7 separate regions of the Homo sapiens genome follow, and all the other regions are linked to region 1. The links are contacts of gene promoters, found by promoter capture Hi-C in human tissues and cell types (Jung and others, 2019). All regions are on one chromosome and are shown on one strand. Each heading gives the region's core, a stretch centred on a gene start or on the middle of the fragment in contact. The rest is flanking DNA. Distances are from core to core; before and after follow the strand shown.

The links. Contacts are between HindIII fragments. The study calls those that stand out against the background at their distance.
Region 2: a contact is called between a fragment that was not itself captured here and the fragment with the promoter of BIRC5 in region 1, in 2 of the 25 tissues and cell types used here (dorsolateral prefrontal cortex and lymphoblastoid cells).
Region 3: a contact is called between a fragment that was not itself captured here and the fragment with the promoter of BIRC5 in region 1, in 2 of the 25 tissues and cell types used here (dorsolateral prefrontal cortex and spleen).
Region 4: a fragment that was not itself captured here is called in contact with the fragment with the promoter of BIRC5 in region 1 in 1 of the 25 tissues and cell types used here (dorsolateral prefrontal cortex).
Region 5: a fragment that was not itself captured here is called in contact with the fragment with the promoter of BIRC5 in region 1 in 2 of the 25 tissues and cell types used here (lymphoblastoid cells and mesenchymal stem cells).
Region 6: a contact is called between a fragment that was not itself captured here and the fragment with the promoter of BIRC5 in region 1, in 1 of the 25 tissues and cell types used here (lymphoblastoid cells).
Region 7: a contact is called between a fragment that was not itself captured here and the fragment with the promoter of BIRC5 in region 1, in 1 of the 25 tissues and cell types used here (lymphoblastoid cells).

What each region holds. Positions count from the first base shown.
Region 1 is chr17:78,212,871-78,215,570 of GRCh38, reverse strand. BIRC5 (baculoviral IAP repeat containing 5) reads right to left here and starts at 1,318. Exons shown (of 4, transcript NM_001168.3): 1 at 1,144-1,318; 2 at 782-891. The coding sequence starts at 1,254. RefSeq lists an enhancer at 672-1,573. The HindIII fragment of the contact is 20,243 bases long and covers 1-2,700 here.
Region 2 is chr17:78,420,165-78,423,053 of GRCh38, reverse strand. All of the region lies in intron 9 of PGS1 (phosphatidylglycerophosphate synthase 1), which reads right to left. Among named protein-coding and RNA genes, the nearest start is that of PGS1, 43 kb to the right of the region's middle. RefSeq lists enhancers at 1-504, 2,778-2,889. The HindIII fragment of the contact is 3,716 bases long and covers 1-2,889 here.
Region 3 is chr17:78,399,984-78,402,683 of GRCh38, reverse strand. It overlaps PGS1 (phosphatidylglycerophosphate synthase 1), which reads right to left. Exons shown (of 10, transcript NM_024419.5): 6 at 1,829-2,007. It overlaps LOC124900399 (small nucleolar RNA SNORA30/SNORA37 family), which reads right to left; the gene lies at 2,621-2,700. Among named protein-coding and RNA genes, the nearest start is that of PGS1, 23 kb to the right of the region's middle. RefSeq lists an enhancer at 1,651-2,156. The HindIII fragment of the contact is 6,850 bases long and covers 1-2,700 here.
Region 4 is chr17:77,962,542-77,965,241 of GRCh38, reverse strand. The region is part of intron 1 of TNRC6C (trinucleotide repeat containing adaptor 6C); the gene reads right to left. Among named protein-coding and RNA genes, the nearest start is that of TNRC6C, 5.2 kb to the right of the region's middle. The HindIII fragment of the contact is 3,556 bases long and covers 1-2,700 here.
Region 5 is chr17:78,013,922-78,016,676 of GRCh38, reverse strand. All of the region lies in intron 3 of TNRC6C (trinucleotide repeat containing adaptor 6C), which reads right to left. Among named protein-coding and RNA genes, the nearest start is that of TNRC6C, 57 kb to the right of the region's middle. The HindIII fragment of the contact is 3,984 bases long and covers 1-2,755 here.
Region 6 is chr17:78,032,963-78,035,662 of GRCh38, reverse strand. All of the region lies in intron 4 of TNRC6C (trinucleotide repeat containing adaptor 6C), which reads right to left. Among named protein-coding and RNA genes, the nearest start is that of TNRC6C, 76 kb to the right of the region's middle. The HindIII fragment of the contact is 3,255 bases long and covers 1-2,700 here.
Region 7 is chr17:78,052,756-78,055,455 of GRCh38, reverse strand. The region is part of intron 5 of TNRC6C (trinucleotide repeat containing adaptor 6C); the gene reads right to left. Among named protein-coding and RNA genes, the nearest start is that of TMC6, 75 kb to the left of the region's middle. The HindIII fragment of the contact is 3,753 bases long and covers 1-2,700 here.

The sequences.
Region 1 (2,700 bases), core at 69-2,568:
GTGAGAAAAGAATATGGCATTACAGTGTGGAAAGACAGATACCATCCGAGTACAGAATTTCATTGTCATTAACTAGGCATCTTGAAGAAAAAAATCCAGAACAACACTGAAGTATATGCTTTCTTTCTTTTTTTTTTTTCAATTTTTTATTTTTATGACGGAGTCTCGCTCTGTCGCCGAGGCTGGAGTGCATTGGCACAATCTCGGCTCACTGCAACCTCCGCCTCCCAGGTTCAAGCGATTCTCCTGCCTTAGCCTCCCGAGTAGCTGGGATTACGGGCGTGCGCTACCATGCCCGGCTAATTTTTGTATTTTTAGTAGAGACGGGGTTTCGCCAAGTTGGCCAGGCAGGTCTTGAACTCCTGACCTCAGGTGATCCGCCCGCCTCAGCCTCCGAAAGTGTGAAGTGCACACTTTCAAAGGGTAATTTTTGTGCTGTGTAGGTTATATTTCAATTAAACTGTTTTTTAAAAAATCTCAAAAAAAGCACTTGGACGTTCCTGGGAGTTCACAACAACAGGGTCTGCTGATGTATTCTGTTGAACATGAAAGGCATCAGGCATCTTACGTCCACCCCAAGGCATTTTGGTCAAATGAGATTTAATTAGGTTGTAAGCATCACCAAGGCACCAGCATATAGAGAGGTATCCGTTCACAACAGCTGTTTAAGAAGCAATGAGGGTGGAAAGCAACCCTCCCATACTAAGTGTCTTTGCAACTCAAATCTTTTGACAACTCAGTTCAAAACAAAGCCCATCGAGGCTGGCCAGAGAAGACTTACATGGGGTCGTCATCTGGCTCCCAGCCTTCCAGCTCCTTGAAGCAGAAGAAACACTGGGCCAAGTCTGGCTCGTTCTCAGTGGGGCAGTGGATGAAGCCAGCCTCGGCCATCTGCAAGGGACAGCACAGCTCGTGAGTGGACGTGGCAGCCCGGAACCCCGAGGCCCAGCCACAAAGGCCTCGATGGGGACAAAGCAGGGAGGGGAGGCCGGCCTGGACCCAAGGGGCCCAGCCACAGTGGCCTCGCTGGGGACAGGACGGGGAGGGGAGGGCGGCTTGTACCCCCGAGGCCCAGTCACAGTGGCCTCGCTAGGGACAGGGCAAGGCGGGCGTGGGGGACCCCAGGAGGCCGGGCAGTCTCACCCGCTCCGGGGTGCAGGCGCAGCCCTCCAAGAAGGGCCAGTTCTTGAATGTAGAGATGCGGTGGTCCTTGAGAAAGGGCTGCCAGGCAGGGGGCAACGTCGGGGCACCCATGCCGCCGCCGCCACCTCTGCCAACGGGTCCCGCGATTCAAATCTGGCGGTTAATGGCGCGCCGCGGGGCATGTCGGGAGCGCACGCCCTCTTAGGCGGTCCACCCCCCGCGGCCTTCTGGGAGTAGAGGCGGGGCGGCGCGGGGTGTGCCGGGAGTTGTAGTCCTCCCGCCGCGTGGCTCTGCCCGTGGTCGCGGTGCACCCAGCGACGCCGCGCCAGCTCGTCCCTGCCCACACCTAGCGCCCCCTCGACTGCTTTCAAAGAACGCGTGCAGGCCGGGTGCAGTGGCTCACGCCTGTAATCCCAACACTTTGAGAGGCCTAGGCAGGAGCATCACTTGAGTCCTGGAGTTCAAGACCAGCCTGGCCATCACGGTGAAACCTTGTCTCTACTAAAAATACAAAAATTAGCTGGGCGTGGTGGTGCATGCCTGTAATCCCAACTACTCGGGAGGCTGAGGCAGGAGAATCGCTTGAACCCGGGAGGCAGAGGGTGCAGTGAGCTGAGATTGTGCCATTGCACTCCAGCCTAGGCAACAAGAGCAAAACTCAGTCTAAAAAAAAAAAAAAAGTCAGACAGGAGAGCTTTACAGGGTGCCACCTCTGCAAAAAGCATCTACTCCAGACGGGCATGAAGGACAAATGAACAGGGGAGGGATGGAGTGCAGCAGACATCGCTGTCCCGGCGAGTACATCGTTGACTGCACGACCTGGGTTTCCAGGAGGGCCACCTTCTGGAGTCAGGGGCCAGGGACTGGGCCACTACCGTGATAAGAAGACAAGGGAGCTGGGGAAAGCCCAGTGGAGGGTGGGGGCCTGTGCTCAGGGCAAACTCCTCCTTTCCCTTCGCAAAGCAGGGCGTCCCACCAACAGTAAGTCCTGCAGCCTATTAAAAAAAAAATCAGTGTGTCCTCTGCTTTGGAACAGGGTGTTCTGGAGTCACTTCTGGAGCTGGGCATCACATCCACTCACTTCTCTGGTTCTATGGCCAGAGATAAGAGGCCTGGCCTTATTAGCCCTCCAGCCCCACGCAGGCCTGGTGCCTCCACTGTCTTTTTCATTTTGGGGTTTATTTATTTATTTATTTATTTTTGCAACCTCTCCCCACCCCTCCCACCCCGCCCCCATTCTTTAATACAGTAACTTTTTATTTTGATGTTTATTTATTTATTTGAAACTGAGTCTCGCTCTATCGCCCAGGCTGGAGTGCAGTGGCATGATCTCAGCTCACTGCAACCTCCTCCCCGCCACGGGTTCAAGCGATTCTCCTGCCTCAGCCTCCCGAGTAGCTGAGATTAAAGGCATGCACCACCACACCAGGCTAATTTTTGTATTTTTAGTAGAGATGGGGTTTCACCATGTTTGCCAGGCTGGTCTCAAACTCCTGACCTCAAGTGATCTGCCTGCCTCGGCCTCCCAAAGTGCTGGGATTACAGATGTGAGCCACT
Region 2 (2,889 bases), core at 365-2,864, 210 kb before region 1:
CAATCTCGGCTCACGTTGCAACCTCCACCTCCTGGGCTCAAGCGATTCTCCTGCCTCAACCTCCCAAGTAGCTGGGGTTACAGGCACCCACCACCACACGCAGCTAATTTTTTTATTTTTAGTAGAGATGGGGTTTCACCATGTTGGCCAGGCTGGTCTCAAACTTCTAACCTCAGGTGATTCACCAACCTCGGCCTCCCAAAGCGCCAGGATTACAGGTGTCAACCACTGTGCCCGGCCCTCAACATTTCTCAGGCTTCAAAGAAAAGCAGGCCGCTGCAGCAGCTCACGCCTCTAATCCCAGGACGGCAATCTTACTTGAGCCCAGGAGTTTAAGACCAGCCTGGGCAACGTGGCAAAACCATCTCTATCAATCAAAAATACAAAAAATTAGCTGGGAATGTTGTATGTGCCTGTGGTCCCAGCTACTCAGGAGGCTGAGGCAGGAGGGTCGCTTGAGCCCATGAGGTCAAGTACGCAGCGAGGCATGATCATGCCACTCACTCCAGCCTGGGTGACAGAGTGAGACCCTGTCTCAAAAGGGGGAAAAAAGGCAAACACACCCATTAGGAATATCGTTCTACGTTCAGCTTGATCATCAAGTTTTGCAAAAACATTTTTCCAAGTTTACTCACCTAAATCATGGGTTAAGAAGCATCTAGAAAGTCCAAATTCTGAGGGTAATGATTCACAACAATCTTAGCGCCCAGTAGGGCTATCGGAGGGAAAAGAAAAATCCTCCCCTCCTGGCGCCCAAGGAATCCAGCCCTTTGTGGCTGCAGAGAAGGGAAGCAGTTTCAGCCTCCCCCAGCCTGGCTGGGCCAATACCTCTGCTGGCCAGGAGGGGTCACTGCAGCCCTTCAGGTGACCAGGGGAGCTAAAGCCACCAGGGGCCACCGGGCAACTCACTTCAGTCCCTGGTAATAACCACAAAATGTGACGTTTTTCCATTTTGCCTTTAGATCCTGAAATAAGAAAGTAATCTAGTCCACACATACATATTGTGGGTAGTTGACAAAATTATCTCTAAACTTTCCAAGAAATGATTCGCACTTAAGCTGCACTCCAGCGACGGGGAACACAGGGACTGGAACACGACAGCCCCGCGCACCTAGAAAGCCGGGAGGACTGCGGCGGCCGCCGCCCGCCGCCCGCTGCTCTCTGTTGCTCCGGCTGCTTTGCAGAGTTAGGGAGGCTTGGTGTGGGGAGCTCCTCAGGGAGAACCTGCCTAGGACAGCCTCGAAGGTCATCAGCAGAGACAGAGGGAGCAGTGTGCGCTGCGGGAACGGCACTGCAGATAGATTGCTTAAGCCTGGCTGTGGCATAATGATATTTACTCTGGTCCCACAGAATCTGGAGGAATGCGAACTCTGTTTACCGAGAGCCTCTCTCCAAACAGAAACCCAGTGCCCCTGCACATTCCTTTGGCTCCTCCAGTCTAATTGTCCCACAGGACACCGTAATAACTAGTTGGAAGGCAAACAGTGTTAACTGATGTGATGTGCTGCTGTCCAGGGCACTGTGGCCAGGCCGCCGCTCCACCTATCCCCAGCCACTCAAACTGCAGGTCTGCCTGGTGCGGAAGCTGCAACTGTCCTTGTCTAAGACCAGGTGAGCCTATGCAACCTTTCAGACCCCATGAAGGGTGACAGTGACTCCTGCCAGCCCTCGGGAGGGAAAGGCGAGAAGCTGCTTCTAGAGAGGCAAAGTGCAGGGACTAAATCTAATCTCACTCCCCGAAAGGACAGGCTGCCATGCCCTGTAGCCCAGGAAGCTTCTCTCTGTGCAAGGGTCAAGCACCTGAAGATGATAAAGAGATCAGGCAGTGAGGTCACAAAAGCAGCTCCTGGAGACACTGGGGGATATGGAGAGCTGGCTTTATAAACACACATGACATGTATTCAAAATCCCCTGCTACTAGGTGACACAAAAATGTTTTAAGTAGATCCAATAAAAATAAAGTTCATTCTTCAAAAAATAAATTGCTAGGGAAAAAACAATCACAAGGTGTAGTCCTTAATTGGACTTCAAGTCAAATAATCGAAAAAATTAATTTTAAGGCAAGTGGAATTGTGAACACCATTTAGGTATTTGATGATACTAAGACATTCTTGGTAATTTTTGTTTCAGGAGTGACACTGGTGCTGTTTTGGTTAAGTACACATTTTGGGGGAAGACAGCAGGATATGCACGTTATTTAGAAATACGGACACGTGTGCACATCAGAAGAAACAAGCCAAGAGTGGCTGCCTGGGGGAAGGGAGGGCAGGAAATGGCCGCAGTATTGTTTTACTCTCTACATTTGCACACACTATTCAAATAAAATGAAAAGTAATTAAAATAACTAGGAAAAGCTGCAGATAAACTACACATTTTTAAACAATGAGACTTAGCAGAGCACTAAGGTGCCAGGCACTAAGGGAGCCCACGCTGCACACATGAGATGCCGGCACTAGCGCATGTGCCGGCCACATGGGTCCTGGCTCATCTTTGACTCCTCACCGTCCCTTCCCCACAAGCCACCATCCAAAGGCCCAGCCATCCAAAGCAACAGAACTACCCACAACATCCAGAACCAGAGAGCAGGGGCCTCGGGAGCCTGACCCCACCCGGAGTGCAGTCCAGGCCCTGAGGGATCCAGGACACAAAAGGTCACTCAGCAAAGACCCCACCTTTAATGGCAGCCACCCCCTGCCCGGACCTCTAGGCGTCAAGACAGTCCAGGGGTACCTCAGGTGACTGTGGGACCCCACTGGTGCCTCTGGTGAAGCGGCAGGCCCCTCCTGGGTGGGCAGAGCAGGTCCTGTTACTCAACTTCCAGAGTCTAGAAGGGCGCAGCTCTGTAACCGCAGCACAGGGATGTCAGCGAGGCGTCCAGGCAGCAGCCCA
Region 3 (2,700 bases), core at 119-2,618, 190 kb before region 1:
CTGAGGCCAGGAGTTTGAGACCAGCCTGACCAACATGGTGAAACCCTGTCTCTACCAAGAGTACAAACATTAGCCAGGTGTGGTGTTGTGTGCCTGTAACCCCAGCTACTCGGGCAGCTGAGGCTGGAGAATCACTTGAACCTCGGAGGCAGAGGTTGCAGTGAGCTGAGATCGTGCCACCACACTCCAGCCTGGGTGACGAGAGCAAAAACTCCATCTCAAAAATATATACATACATATGTGTGTGTGTGTGTGTATATATATATATATATATATATATATATATGAATAGAAATTACTAGAATGAAAATGATACAAAAATGGAGAATATCAACTGTCCAAAGTTGATTGTCTGATAAACGATTGATAAAACAACAAGGCTTTGGCAAGGCTGATCAGGGAAGTGAAACAGGGAAGGAGGGCTGTCCCAGGTCATCCTTGCTGGCTTGCATGGTCTGAGCTGGGGGCAGGAACAGACACTCAGTGCCTTTCAGGGCTGGGCTACAGAACAAAGAGAAGGACCATCCCATGCAGGAGTCTAGCCTGTTGATGCCAACACCCTCCAGGGGAGAAAGGAGTCACACTGCCACATGCTGGACAGGGCTGCCGGAGGGAGGAGCACCGGGGGGCCCTGCGCACACCCTGAGCCTCTCTGTGGACTCATTCTCCCAAGCACAGCTGGGCTCGAGTCTCCCCGCTCCTGCTCGGAGCGTGCTGGCTCTCATCCTGGCCTAAGCATGGCCTGTTTTCTCTCATATCCATGCCTGGCCCGTTACATTAGACCAGGGATCCACACACATTTTCTTTAAGGGTCAGATGGTAAATATTTTAGGCTTTCTGGGCCAAAAGGCAAAGCTGAGGATGCTAGGTAGGCACTCAGCAAGAGAGATACAGAGCTCCACAAGCTCTTTACAGATGAAATTCAAAATACAACAGTAGGAACAGTGCATGGCGGCAGGCAGAGCATCACACCATCACGGTCGGGGTCTGAGGCCCAGGGCTCCCCTGACACAAGGACAGGGCTTCCACCAGACGGCCCACTGAAATGCTTCCATTCTAGGTCCACAAGACGCAGAGAGCTCTTCTCCCAACAAGTTCCAACTTCAGCTCCTCCTCCCCAAGTTCAGACACTGCTGCAAATCCAGCAGCAGCTCTCTAAAGGCCATGGGGGAGCCACAGCCGCAGGAATCACAGGAATGCAAATGCCCCAGAACACTCACGCCAGAACCTGCCTGGTTCCAGTGGGCAGAGCTGAGAGCTCTTCCACTTCATTTTCCAGGCAGGGGGCCACAGAGCTCAAGGGAGCTGGGAGCCACAGGCCCAGGTGATAGGCTTGGGGAAATGGGCCCTAGGCGAACAGCTGCTGGCCTGGTTGCTTCCTGTGATGCAGGGCAGGCTTCTGGGTCACTCGCCCAGGCACACGTGTTCATTGCTGAGTAGCTATTTGTTAACTGCGTCCTGACCTGAGTTTGTCACCCCCCTGCTAGTTCACCTGAGACCTGGGTCACTAGGACACGCTGCTGCATACCCTTGCCTGAGTCCTCCTCACCTGCGTCTTCCCTCCCTGTAGTGCAAACCTGAGTGACTCCGCCTCAAGGAGTAGGAGTCCCAAGCCCAAGCTCCCACCTTTCTGGGCTGGCTCTCTCACCCACAGAGCATGACTGATGGTCAGTGAGTCACATCTGTCTGGCTTCAAGGACAAAAGCAGAATGAAGCCTTGCCACCCAAGTCCCCTATGCCTGTGGCAGAACCACCTAGAGTTGTGCTCTCCCGGGCCCTCACTCCACCCCACCCACAGCCATAGAAGGGTGTCAGCGGCAGCCCCTACCTTTGTAAGGATGCACCATCCCATCCACCACCTGCACCGTGTCGTCCCCCTGCAGCTGCAGGGACACATCCCCCACCGCGTCCACCAGCTCCGTGAAGAAGTCGGCAATCTCCGCACAGTCCTGCAGGAACACGTAGCGGTCCTGGCGGTTGGTGAAGTAGGAGTCACTCAGGTTTGCACTACAGGGAGGGAAGATGCAGGTGAGGAGGACTCAGGCAAGGGTATGCAGCAGCGTGTCCTGGTGACCCAGGTCTCAGGTGAACTAGCAGGGGGGTGACAAACTCAGGTCAAGATGCAGTTAACAAATAGCTACTCAGCAATGAACACGTGCAAAAGACAAAGCCAGAGTTGATCCAAGGTGACACAGCAAAGTGACCCACAGCCTCCTCCTCTCAAGGAGCCGACAGTGTAGCTGAGAAGAGGAGATGCAGACACAGAAAGTCAACTAACCACACAGGGCTTTTTTTTTTTTTGAGACAATCTCATTCTGTCGCCCAGGCTGGAGTGCAGTGGCATGATCTTGGCTCCCTGCAGCCTCCGCCTCCCAGGTTCAAGTGATCCTCCTGCCTCAGCCTCCCGAGTAGCTGGGATTACAGGTGTGTGCCACCACACCCAGCTAATTTTTGTATTTTTAGTAGAGACGGGGCTTCACCATGTTGTCCAGGCTGGTCTTGAACTTCTAACGTCAGGTGATCCCTCTGCCTCAGCCTCCCAAAATGTGGGATTACAGGCGTGAGCCACTGCGCCCGGCCCATGCAGGGCTATTTATCAGCGCCCATGTTTGTTTGTTCTCTCTGTCCCACTAAGTGACAGCTGCCACTGGTACAGTCCCAGAGCAAGGATGCAATCAAGGGCTTTCTCTCAGCACCAGC
Region 4 (2,700 bases), core at 117-2,616, 250 kb after region 1:
TATGTGAGGGCTTTGAAGTGTATTGAGTTTAAATTCTGGCTTCATCTCCTATAAGCTATAGGATCTTGTGGAAATTACTCCCTTTGCTCATCTGTAAAATGGGAATGTTAAAAGCAACCACTTCACAGGAGTGTTGTGAGGATTAAATAAGATAAACTCATGTCCTTGGCACATAATCACATTGTAAATGCTCAGATTAGTTTTAAATGGAGATCTGGTTACCTAAGGATGCTTTCTAACCTCGTCCACTCCCACTTCACAATTCCCAATTGTCCTCAGTGACTCAAATGTACTTGTTCCCACAAATCCATCACCTTCTTCCCTTACTGTGCCTCCCTACCAAAAAAGACCTTGTTTAAGACATCAGCCATAGCCCCCTGAAGAACAAAGCCTATTAAATTCCCTCCCTACACTCTGGGCCCCTCACTCTGCACTTCATATTTCATATGGAGTATGAGAAAAAATACTTGTGCATCTCCCTCCTCCCCACTGTAATTTCTGAATAACCGTTGTCCACATCATCTCAACAACAGTTGGAAAGGTGACACCTGTGCCCGCGTTGCCATTTCCCAGTTTCAGATCTTAGTTTAATTCCCAGTTGCTATTTTCACTGAGATTTTCCCTGCTTCCTAAAAGAGTAATTAAAAAGAAATGATCTTTGGGAATAAAAAAGTAAACAATATCTTTGCCAGGCTCAAACCAAGCACTTGATTTTAGCTGTGAGAGATCTTATTCTTAATAAGCTAGAAGGCACACATAAAATGAATCAAACAAAGCACATATTCCCAATAACCACCTGGGCACCAACTTGCATCTGGTATTAGCCACGTCAAAAGACAGTCTGCACATTAGTAAAGGACTCAACCACAGACAAGAGTTATCCAACTGCTGAGAATAATTCAACTTGACACTGTGATACTATAGGTTTGTAGTTCAATCCTTCAGAGAAGGAAGTTATAAAGATACAATAGAGTATTAATTTCTAAAATGGTCTGAAGAAGAAAAACAGAGAGGGTCTTCAGAGTAAACCATTTGGATTTATACAAATAGATGCCAGTCACACTCTTCTTCATTTTTGTGCAAAAAAATTAAAAATTTGTTATGCCAAAAAGGTTCATGAGAAAGTGGAAACTGGGCCAAATTAGACCAATCCATCCCACAAAATATCTGGAAGATTCCAGATGACTCTTTGGGCCATGTGCACTGTGTGTGGCCCAGTGATCATATGGGTCTTAGGGCAGTGGTTCTCCAACAGAAAAGAAGTATTGCAACAAAGAGGCAAATAAAGAGGAAGATGGTGGGACAGACAACTCTTATTTCCTAGACACCCCTTATTTCCTAGAGCAAACATTTAAATCCACTGGCTTACAAGAGGAATATACTTAAGAAGCTATATTATTGCTCATCCTTAATCACTACTATATTTTAGAAAACCAAAGTTCCAATGCATAGCTGGAACTCAGAGAGACACAGAGAATATTAAGAGTTCAAAATAACATTGAGTGTTCCTTTCCCAAGACCATTACTTCTGTTGTGGTTTGCAGCCACAGAGGGCTCAGGAGAGTGCGAACAACTATCTGTGCTACAGCAGTGATGTTTTATGGCTGGATGCCCAGATTGTCTAGCTCTGCACACAGCTCTATAGTCTTTTGAAGGCTACAGAGGAGGAATGCATTCTTAACAAACAGCTCTCCATTCCTGCAATAGCTTCTTCATTCTCTGAAAACATCTAAAGCTAAGAAAAGAATTCATTTTTAGTAAAACTCCAAAAATGGAACAAACGATATGGATTTTCAGCATGTTTTAAACATGTAAAACCTTGTTATATATATCCCAGGTGGAGATTTTTTAAAATTACATAATTTACTTTTCATTAAATAAATTAACATTTCAAATGCACGATCTGTACAATAGGAAACTGTACCATTATTTTAATCGGGTTATTCAAACAAGTTCACTGGCTAAGATTATACATTTCTCAGTTTCAATTTCAGATATACACTTTCTGCACAAGGTTATATAGTTATTTCTGACAAGTAACCTTTACATTTTTAAGTAATTATATTCCTAAAAAGTTATGTATAAGCTGAAAATTTATAAATGGACTCCACTGCATTAAAGTCTATTTAAAGAAAGCTTATTGTATATCATTTTATAAAGAATGCTCTCCTCGTGACCACACAATTATTTAAAAACTCATTTGTATAAATTTGGATAGCCATAGACTGAGTAAAAGCAAGAAAACCTGTACAATCTACCCCCTACAAAATAGGAGCCACTTCTCACCTGATATTTTGCTGTCCCTACTCAAATCTATGACATCTTCAAACAAAATATTAAGATGTTAACTATCTAAAGTAACTAAAATCCAGTCACCTTCACTGGGACCAGTTGTCATGCAAGAGAGACCAAAGACTGTGTCACCAACACTTCAAAATATTTCCTTACTTCTCACCTAAAATATTTGAAGACCCTCTGAGATAGAGCTGGAGAAAAGGTAAAAACCCATGTCTTAAAATTATGAGAAAGAAGCCAAAACAAGTTCAACGGAAGATAACAAAAACAAAACAAACATAAAGTTACCTGGTTCTTCCCAGCTTATATAGACCCTTTCACGCTCAGTCTGTTCAGGACTCCGCCTCCTGCTCCCTCAACCTATCCTTCTGCCAGCTCCAAGGACGTCTATAAATCTGTTCCTGT
Region 5 (2,755 bases), core at 8-2,507, 200 kb after region 1:
AAGGGAAGGCAGGCAGAGACTGCAGCAATTTAGAAGAGGTAATGACAGCTGTACTCAGGAATGGAGGATTAGATCTTACTCTGGTTCTAAACCACCCCCCTTAATTTGGTTCCCATATCTCCAACAGTTTGGAAAGTGTTAGGCGCTAGATGAATGTTAATGAACAGCCATCCCATTATTTTAAATGTTTACAAAGCAAGTAGTTAAAATGGTCTCTCCCACCCACCACCACAGGCACACCTGGTGCAGGACTGACAAGCCTGGCACACAGCTTATGCAGCCTCCGTGCAAGGAGAGCTGAGGCTAGGGATCTGGTTCCCCCAGTTACATGTGAGTGCATGTGACCTGGCAGGTACTGGCTGTGGGTGCCTGTAAGCACAGTACTGGAGATGGTGGCAGTTTCTGTGCAGGGGCCACATTCCCAATCGCTCCTTTTGTGGCTGAGAGAGACAGTGTTAGTGCCGCTTCCTGACCCCTGGTCTGCGGCAGTGGCACTGTGCTCTAGAAGTCAAGAGAGCCAATAGGGCCTCTCAATTATTCCTGGAGGTAGCAGCTCTTCAGGGAACTCTTTGGGGAGTCATTTCTGAAGGCCCAGCCTAGAGTTTACCCCCTTCAGCCCTTTCAGTGATTTTATACGCACCCAGTCCTCCATATTTTAAACCCATTTCTGCTTATAACAGCTAGAGTAGTTTCTATATTCTTCAGCCGAAATCTGGTTAAGAGCATATAGACTTTTTTAGCAAGGAGTTTTATTTATTTATTATTGAGATGGAGTCTTGCTCTGTTGCCCAGGCTGGAGTGCAATGGCATGATCTCGGCTTACTGCAACCTCCGCTTCCTGGGTTCCAGCAATTCTCCTGCCTTGGCCTCCCGAGTAGCTGGGATCACAGGCGCCCACCACCACGCCCAGCTAATTTTTGTACTTTTAGTAGAGATGCGGTTCTGCCATCTTGGCCAGGCTGGTCTGGAACTCCTGACCTCAGGTGATCCGCCCACCTCGGCCTCCCAAAGTGGCTGGGATTACAGGCTGAGCCACTGTGCCTGGCCCAAGTAGTACATTTAAATCTTCCATCTACCTAGACAACATCACAGTATGTGGTATGAGCTAGGTATACCACTGTTTCCCAGTAATGGCATTTACTGTTAAAAGGATCCTCAATTAGAATCCCGTGGGCTGCCACCATTAGCCTAAAGTATAATAACAAGTAGGTGTGAAATGGATGAGAGCAGTATATTTTAAAACTAACTTTTTATAGGTAAAAATGCTAACTGGGAGGGACATTTTTAACCCACACATTTTAACACATCTTCTTTCTGAAATTTGGATGCCCCTTACAATTGATGTATAAATACAACAAGGTTTCCTCATTCATGCTCCACCTCTGTCAACAGGACGTTATTGAATAGATGATATGTCCTATGACTGATGTCATCTCAGAACTTAAGAAACAAGCTTTTGTAAGATAAAGCATAGAACTTCTCTTATGCATGGACACCCCACACAATGAAAAAAATTGTCAAAAATCAAGCAGTAATTCTAGTCATTTCAGAATAAATATTCAAAGATTCAGAGTTTCTTAACATTTTAAATTTACTCAAATATAAGATTGTTTGCAAATGTGACTATGTAAGAGAACTATTCTCTTGTGCCAACATAATCAGTGATTCCAAGGAATATTTTTGTTATTACAATTTCTTCTGCAGCCTATACAGCAGCAAACATTGTGGCGAGAAGTTGCCTTAGAACAATGAGATGCGAGCAGAAGACAGCTCTGAGTACGGAGGGTCCATCTGCTGTGCTCATCAGCAGTCCTGGAGGGATACAAAGTGGTGCCTTCTGTTTGTTCAGTGGATGCTTCTGGCTGATCTATCACCGTGGCAACATTTGGAGCCCAACTCAAAACAAGCACAGACTCATTAACTACAAACTACATTAACTTAGTGTCTGTTGCTAATGAGAAATGCCGTTCAGAGGTATTTTCTACTCTAGCATATTACAGTTACCTCTCTAAAAGGTACCAAATGCCACTCTCAATACATCACATACTAGATAACATGAATGTTAAAAGAAAGCAAAATTATTTTAATAATGACTACAAACAGTAAGAATCATTTCATTAAAAGGTTACTTTGTTTTGGCCCTTGGATATTCCTGCTGTAAGAAAATGTACTATGTATCATATATGCAAGCACATCTAAGTTCTTTTTAAACAACAGGCTTATTTAGAAGATCAATTTAGAAAATGCCGCTAAGAGCATATGTTAAAGCTGAGTAATCAAGACAGCATTAATGCCTACTGGCTCTCCTGTAATCTTCTCATATGTAACATTGATCATAACTCTCTCCAAGTGAGGCAACACACTGGACAAAACATTAAAGGCAAAGAAAGTCCACTGGGTGTAGAGCTTGTCAGTTCCCTTAACTCCTTCTTGACCACATCTCTTTTCATGCTAAATCATCCTGAACTAAATGAGCTCTCAGAACAAATGGCAAATCCTAAATCTCATGAAACACAGAAGATTTAAGTGGAATTATGTCTCAAATGTGTTCTCCCAGGACTGATAAATTGGGAAATAGCAGTAATCTTAGGTATTTTCTCTCCAAAAGTGCAGAATCCTACAACCCGCCAGAAGAGGGAGCCAAAGTTAAACTACTCCAACATTTAGTAAGACAAGGCTGGTGCAGGAGGAGAGAAATTGGCCTTATTTCAAACTGATTTGGAAAAGCCTTCTTATTCTCTTAGGCAAAAGAGCA
Region 6 (2,700 bases), core at 120-2,619, 180 kb after region 1:
AGTCAAAAATTTTGACTATTTTTTTGAAACAGGTCTTGCTGTGTTGTCCATGCTGGTCTTGAATTCCTGGGCTCAAGCGATCCTTCTCCCTCAGCCTGTCAGGTAGCTGGGATTTGTGAACACTCTGCTTCACAATGGTGTTTCAAAGATGGGTACATATTTGTTGTATATTTCAAAGTCTCACCAGTCTCACACTAACAACTATCACCTGCATTACTCAACACCTACTATAAGCAAGACCTTGTGCTGCATATGAAATAAATAGCTCATCTTCAAAATTAGGAATCTCTTCATTTCAAAGATGAGTCAAAAGTACAGGGAGTGAAGGTGATTTGGTCAAGGTCACACAGGAGGTGGTGGGTCTGGAAAGTGGATTGGGCCTGTCTCTTGACCACTTTGCCATACTGCCTCCATGCTTGCTGATGCTCACCTACAATCCCTGTGCCAACACCGTAACAACATGGGACAGTGTTCCTGAAAGTCCTTCCACTGACAAAATCAAACAAAGTCATTGGAATGGTGTCTGAGTCAGAAATTTAAGGGAAAGGACCTTAGAGATCATGAGAGGTTCAAACCTCTCATTTTAGATGAGAAATGGAAGGACTAGTTGGTGGCATAACAAGTTCTAGTTTCCAAGTCCTCACCTATGGTTCAGAGATTTTCCCATTCTGCTTAGTCATAGAAAGCTCAGAGACGTTATTTATTTTTTCCTGTTGCCCAGGCTGGAATGCAGTGACTCGATCTTGGCTCACTGCATCCTCCACCTCCCAGACTCAAGCGATTGTCCCACCTCAGCCTCTTGAGTAGCTGGGACCACAGGCACATGCCACCATGTCTGGCTAATTTTTGTACTTTTTGCAGAAAGGGGGTTTTGCTGTGTCACCCAGGCTGGCCTCGAACTCCTGAGCTCAAGCAATTCACCCGCCCAGGGCTTCAAAGTGCTGGGATTACAGGCATCAGCCACCACGCCCGACCTCAAACATTTTCTTCATAGGATATTTCCAACTTAGTTTAAAGGCAAGACTCTTATGACCTAATCAGCAAAAAATATAGGATATACAGTATACAGTAAGTGCAAAGGTGTTATGTTACAAAGTGGGCATATTACACCTGTGAGAACAGAATGGAGACAGAGCTGCTTGGGGAAGCCTCACGGGTGCGGGGGGACAATGAACTGGAAGTAAAGTGGGGGTTGGGGGGGCAGCAATTAAGCATGTGTGCATGGGAGGGACTTGACAGTGAGCATGGCACACTTGTGAGACAGTAAGAAAGCAATCCCAATCATAATAGAAAGTAGGCCATGGAGGCTGGGGGGTGGTGGCTCACGCCTGGAATCACAGCACTTTGGGAGGCTGAGGCAGGCGGATCACCTGAGGTCAGGAGTTTGAGACCATCCTGACCAACATGGTGAAATGCCTTCTCTACTAAAAATACAAAATTAGTCAGGCATGGTGGTGGTCGCCTGTAATCCCAGCTACTCAGGAGGCTGAGGCAGGCAGGAGAATCACTTGAACCTGGGAGGCAGAGGTTGTGGTGAGCCAAAACTGTGCCATCGCATTTCAGCCTGGGCAACAAGAGAGAAACTCAGTCTCAAAAGAAAAGAAAAAAGTAGGCCATGGAGAGTAGGCGGGGAAAATGTTGGGGAGACTCGGCTATGAAGGGCCTTCACAGCCAGAGAGAAAAACGGAGAGTTTGTGCATTAGTAACTAGGTGACCACGGCAGGTTTGTGAGGGGACCCCTCGTCAGTGAAGGGTGGTGAGTTAGAAAGATGCATCTGGCTGTGATACCAGAGACTACTGAGGAAGAGATGAAATTGGTATAAAATGAAGATTTTTGTTTGGGAGTCAAGAATGAATTTCTTATTTTATGCTCACTACATAGATTGATCAATTTTTTGAGATGTTTTCAATCCATAAAATGATTTATGTTCTTCAATATGTGTGTGTGTTTATATGTATATTTATATATATACTCACACACCTTTTTTTTTTTGAAACGGAGTTTCACTCTTGTCACCCAGGCTGGAGTGCAATGGCGTGATCTCGGCTCGCCGCAACCTCCACGTCCCAGGTTCAAGCGATTCTCCTGCCTCAGCCTCCCGAGTAGCTGGGATTACAGGCATGTGCCAACATGCCCAGCTAATTTTGTATTTTTAGTACAGACTGGGTTTCTCCATGTTGGTCAGGCTGGTCTCGAACTCTCGACCTCAGGTGATCCGCCCACCTTGGCTTCCCAAAGTGCTGGGATTACAGGCGTGAGCCACTGTGCCCAGCCTACAATATATATTTTAGAAGGACTATGAACTAGGAGTATTTTCTTAGATAATGTTATATTTACAGAGATAAATATTTAATGAGGGAATATTATATCATAGCAAGATTTTATTGACTTAATTGCTTATTTTCTACTTATCTAAGAAGATACCAGTAACATTCTGCACCAGCAGCATTTGATGAGAAAACTGATGCAATACTGTCAACCAATCACATCACAACCAGATACAACCAGAACAGGCAGGGCTGTTACATTTCTTATTCAGTTTTTCAAAATAAGACCCTTAAATTAAAACACCAAGCTATTTAGGTCTAACTATAGAATCCTTGTCTCTGTTAAGATTTTCCCAAGGACCATATTGGGAAAGTAGCATGTTTGATTGTAAACTGCTGGCAACTAAATAGATGAGACTATATTCTTGGTCA
Region 7 (2,700 bases), core at 2-2,501, 160 kb after region 1:
TGTAAACAAACCTACTGTGCGGCCAGTCACAGCAAGGTCTAGCACACACAACTGATGATGCTGATACAAGACTATGTTACCAGTTTATGTCTTTACTGTACTTCCTGTTATTGGATCTCCAATGGGACAACGTGTGGAGGTGGACAACAGTGATACTGAAGATCCCGGCCCTGTGTAGGCCTAGGCTAACGTGTGCGTTTGTGTCTTAGTTATCAAAAAAGTTTAAAAGGTACAAAAAAAAAGCTCATAGAATAAGAATATAAAAAATACTTTTGTGAAGCTGTACAATGTGTGTTTTAAGCTAAGTGTTACTGAAGAAAGTATCTTTTAATCTTTTAATAAATGTAGTGTGGCCTAAGCGTACAGTGTTCACCAAGTCTACAGCAGTCTACAGTGGTGCGCAGTACTCTGCAGTGGTGTACAGTGCTGAACTCTACTTTGCAGTGGTGTACAGTAGTCCGCAGTGGTGTATGGTAGCGTACAGTAGTCCGCAGTGGTGTATGGTAGCGTACAGTAGTCCGCAGTGGTGTATGGTAGCATACAGTAGTCCGCAGTGGTGTATGGTAGCGTACAGTAGTCTGCAGTGGTGTATGGTAGTGTACAGTAGTCTGCAGTGGTGTATGGTAGCGTACAGTAGTCTGCAGTGGTGTATAGTAGTGTACAGTAGTCTGCAGTAATGTATAGTAGTGTACAGTAGTCCACAGTAGTCTCCAGTAGTGTACAGTAGTCTGTAGTAGTCTGCAGTGGTGTATAGTAGTCTACAGTAGTCTGCAGTAGTCTCCAGTAGCGTACAGTAGTCTGCAGTGGTGTGCAGTAGTCTGCAGTGGTGTATACTAGTCTACAGTAGTCTGCAGTGGTGTATAGTAGTCTACAGTAGTCTGCAGTGGTGCGCAGTAGTCCACAGTGATGTACAGTGCTCTGCAGTGGTATACAGTGGTGAACTCTACTTTGCAGTGGTGTACAGTAGTCTGCAGTGGCGTGCAGTAGTCTGCAGTAGTATACAGTAGTCTGCAGTGGTTTACAGTAGTCTGCAGTGGTGTATAGTAGTGCACAGTACTCTGCAGTAGTCTCCAGTAGTGTACAGTAGTCTGCAGTGGTGTGCGTAGTCTGCAGTAGTGTGCAGTAGTCTGCAGTGGTGTGCGTAGTCTGCAGTAGTGTGCAGTAGTGTCCCAAGCCTTCACATTCACTCACCACTAACTCACTGACTCACCCACAGCCACTTCCAGTCCTGCAAGCTCCACTCATGGTAAGTGCCCTATACAGGTGCACCATTTTAAATATTTTATACCATATTTTAATGTCCCCTTTTCATGTTTAGATATATAAATACTTACCATCGTCCTACAACTGCCTACAGTATTCAGTACAGTAATATGCTGTGCAGGTTTGTAGCCTAGGAGCAACAGGCTGTACCGTATAGCCTAGGTGAGCAGGAGGCTATGCCATCTAGGTTTATGTAACTATACTTTATAATGTTAACACAATGCTGAAATTGTCTGATGACACATTTCTTAGAATGTATCACCATTGTTAAGCTATGCATGACTGTATTAATTCTGTTCCTGGAGCTTTTTTGTTTGTTTGTTTAAAGAAATGGGGTCTCGTTATGTTGCCCAGGCAGGCTTTGAACTCCTGGGCTCAAGCCATCCTTCCACCTCAGCCTCCCAAGTAGCTGGGATTACAGGTGGGGGCTCTCAGATCACTTTCTGCATACCTTTACTATAATGCTAATTAAACTCTATTAAATTTGATATTACTAGCCTGTCCCACTAGACTATTCCTTACTTAGGAATAATCTTATTTTTCTTTCTTTCTTTTTTTTTTTTTGAGACAGAGTTTCGCTCTGTCGCCCAGGCTGGAGTGCAATGGCCCCATCTCAGCTCACTGCAACCTCCGCCTCCTGGGTTCAAATGATTCTCCTGCCTTCACCTCCTGAGTAGCTGGGATTAGAGACATGCGCCACCATGCCCGGCTAATTTTGTATTTTTAGTAGAGATGGGGTTTCACCTTGTTGGTCAGGCTGGTCTCGAACTCCTGACCTCAGATGATCTGCCCGCCTTGGCCTCCCAAAGTACTGGGATTACAGGCATGAGCCACCACGCCCGACCTAATCTTATTTTTCAAATCCCTTCATTTTCCTTCTTCCTGCTTCTCCTTATCCCCCCAAGTACTTTATAAAATGTAAGGGCCTAGAAATATTAGTCATATATTAGTAAACAATTGGAATCACAAATTCAAGTACTCCAAGGAACCAGTCAGTTAACGTAAACAGGCCCAGCGTAAGAACAGCAGCGCAAGCTTGATGATGCTCAGTGGCTACTGATCAAAAGCCTCAGTGTTGGGAACCGTCAGGGGTCGGGGGGCAACGTGACATGGTATGGAGAAAATGCACAGGCCCTTATGAAGGCAAGTGGCTCTGACTGACTGCTGCCATGTGAATCCAATGTCAGACTTTTCAGGTTTCCAAAGGAAGCCAGAAATCTGGAATTTAATATAAAACATTTGCATTAAAAAAATGCCAATTCACAGAAAAAATGTGGGCCAAAAAGGCACATTTGTGGGACTAGGTGCAGCCCACGGACCACTGATTTTTGACCTCTGGTTTAGTGACACTGATGCGTTAGCTGGAGGCTAAAACTGTCTTGAGGATCCATAAAGGATTCCTGATGTGGCAGCCTCAGAGAGGTACACAAGTGAACC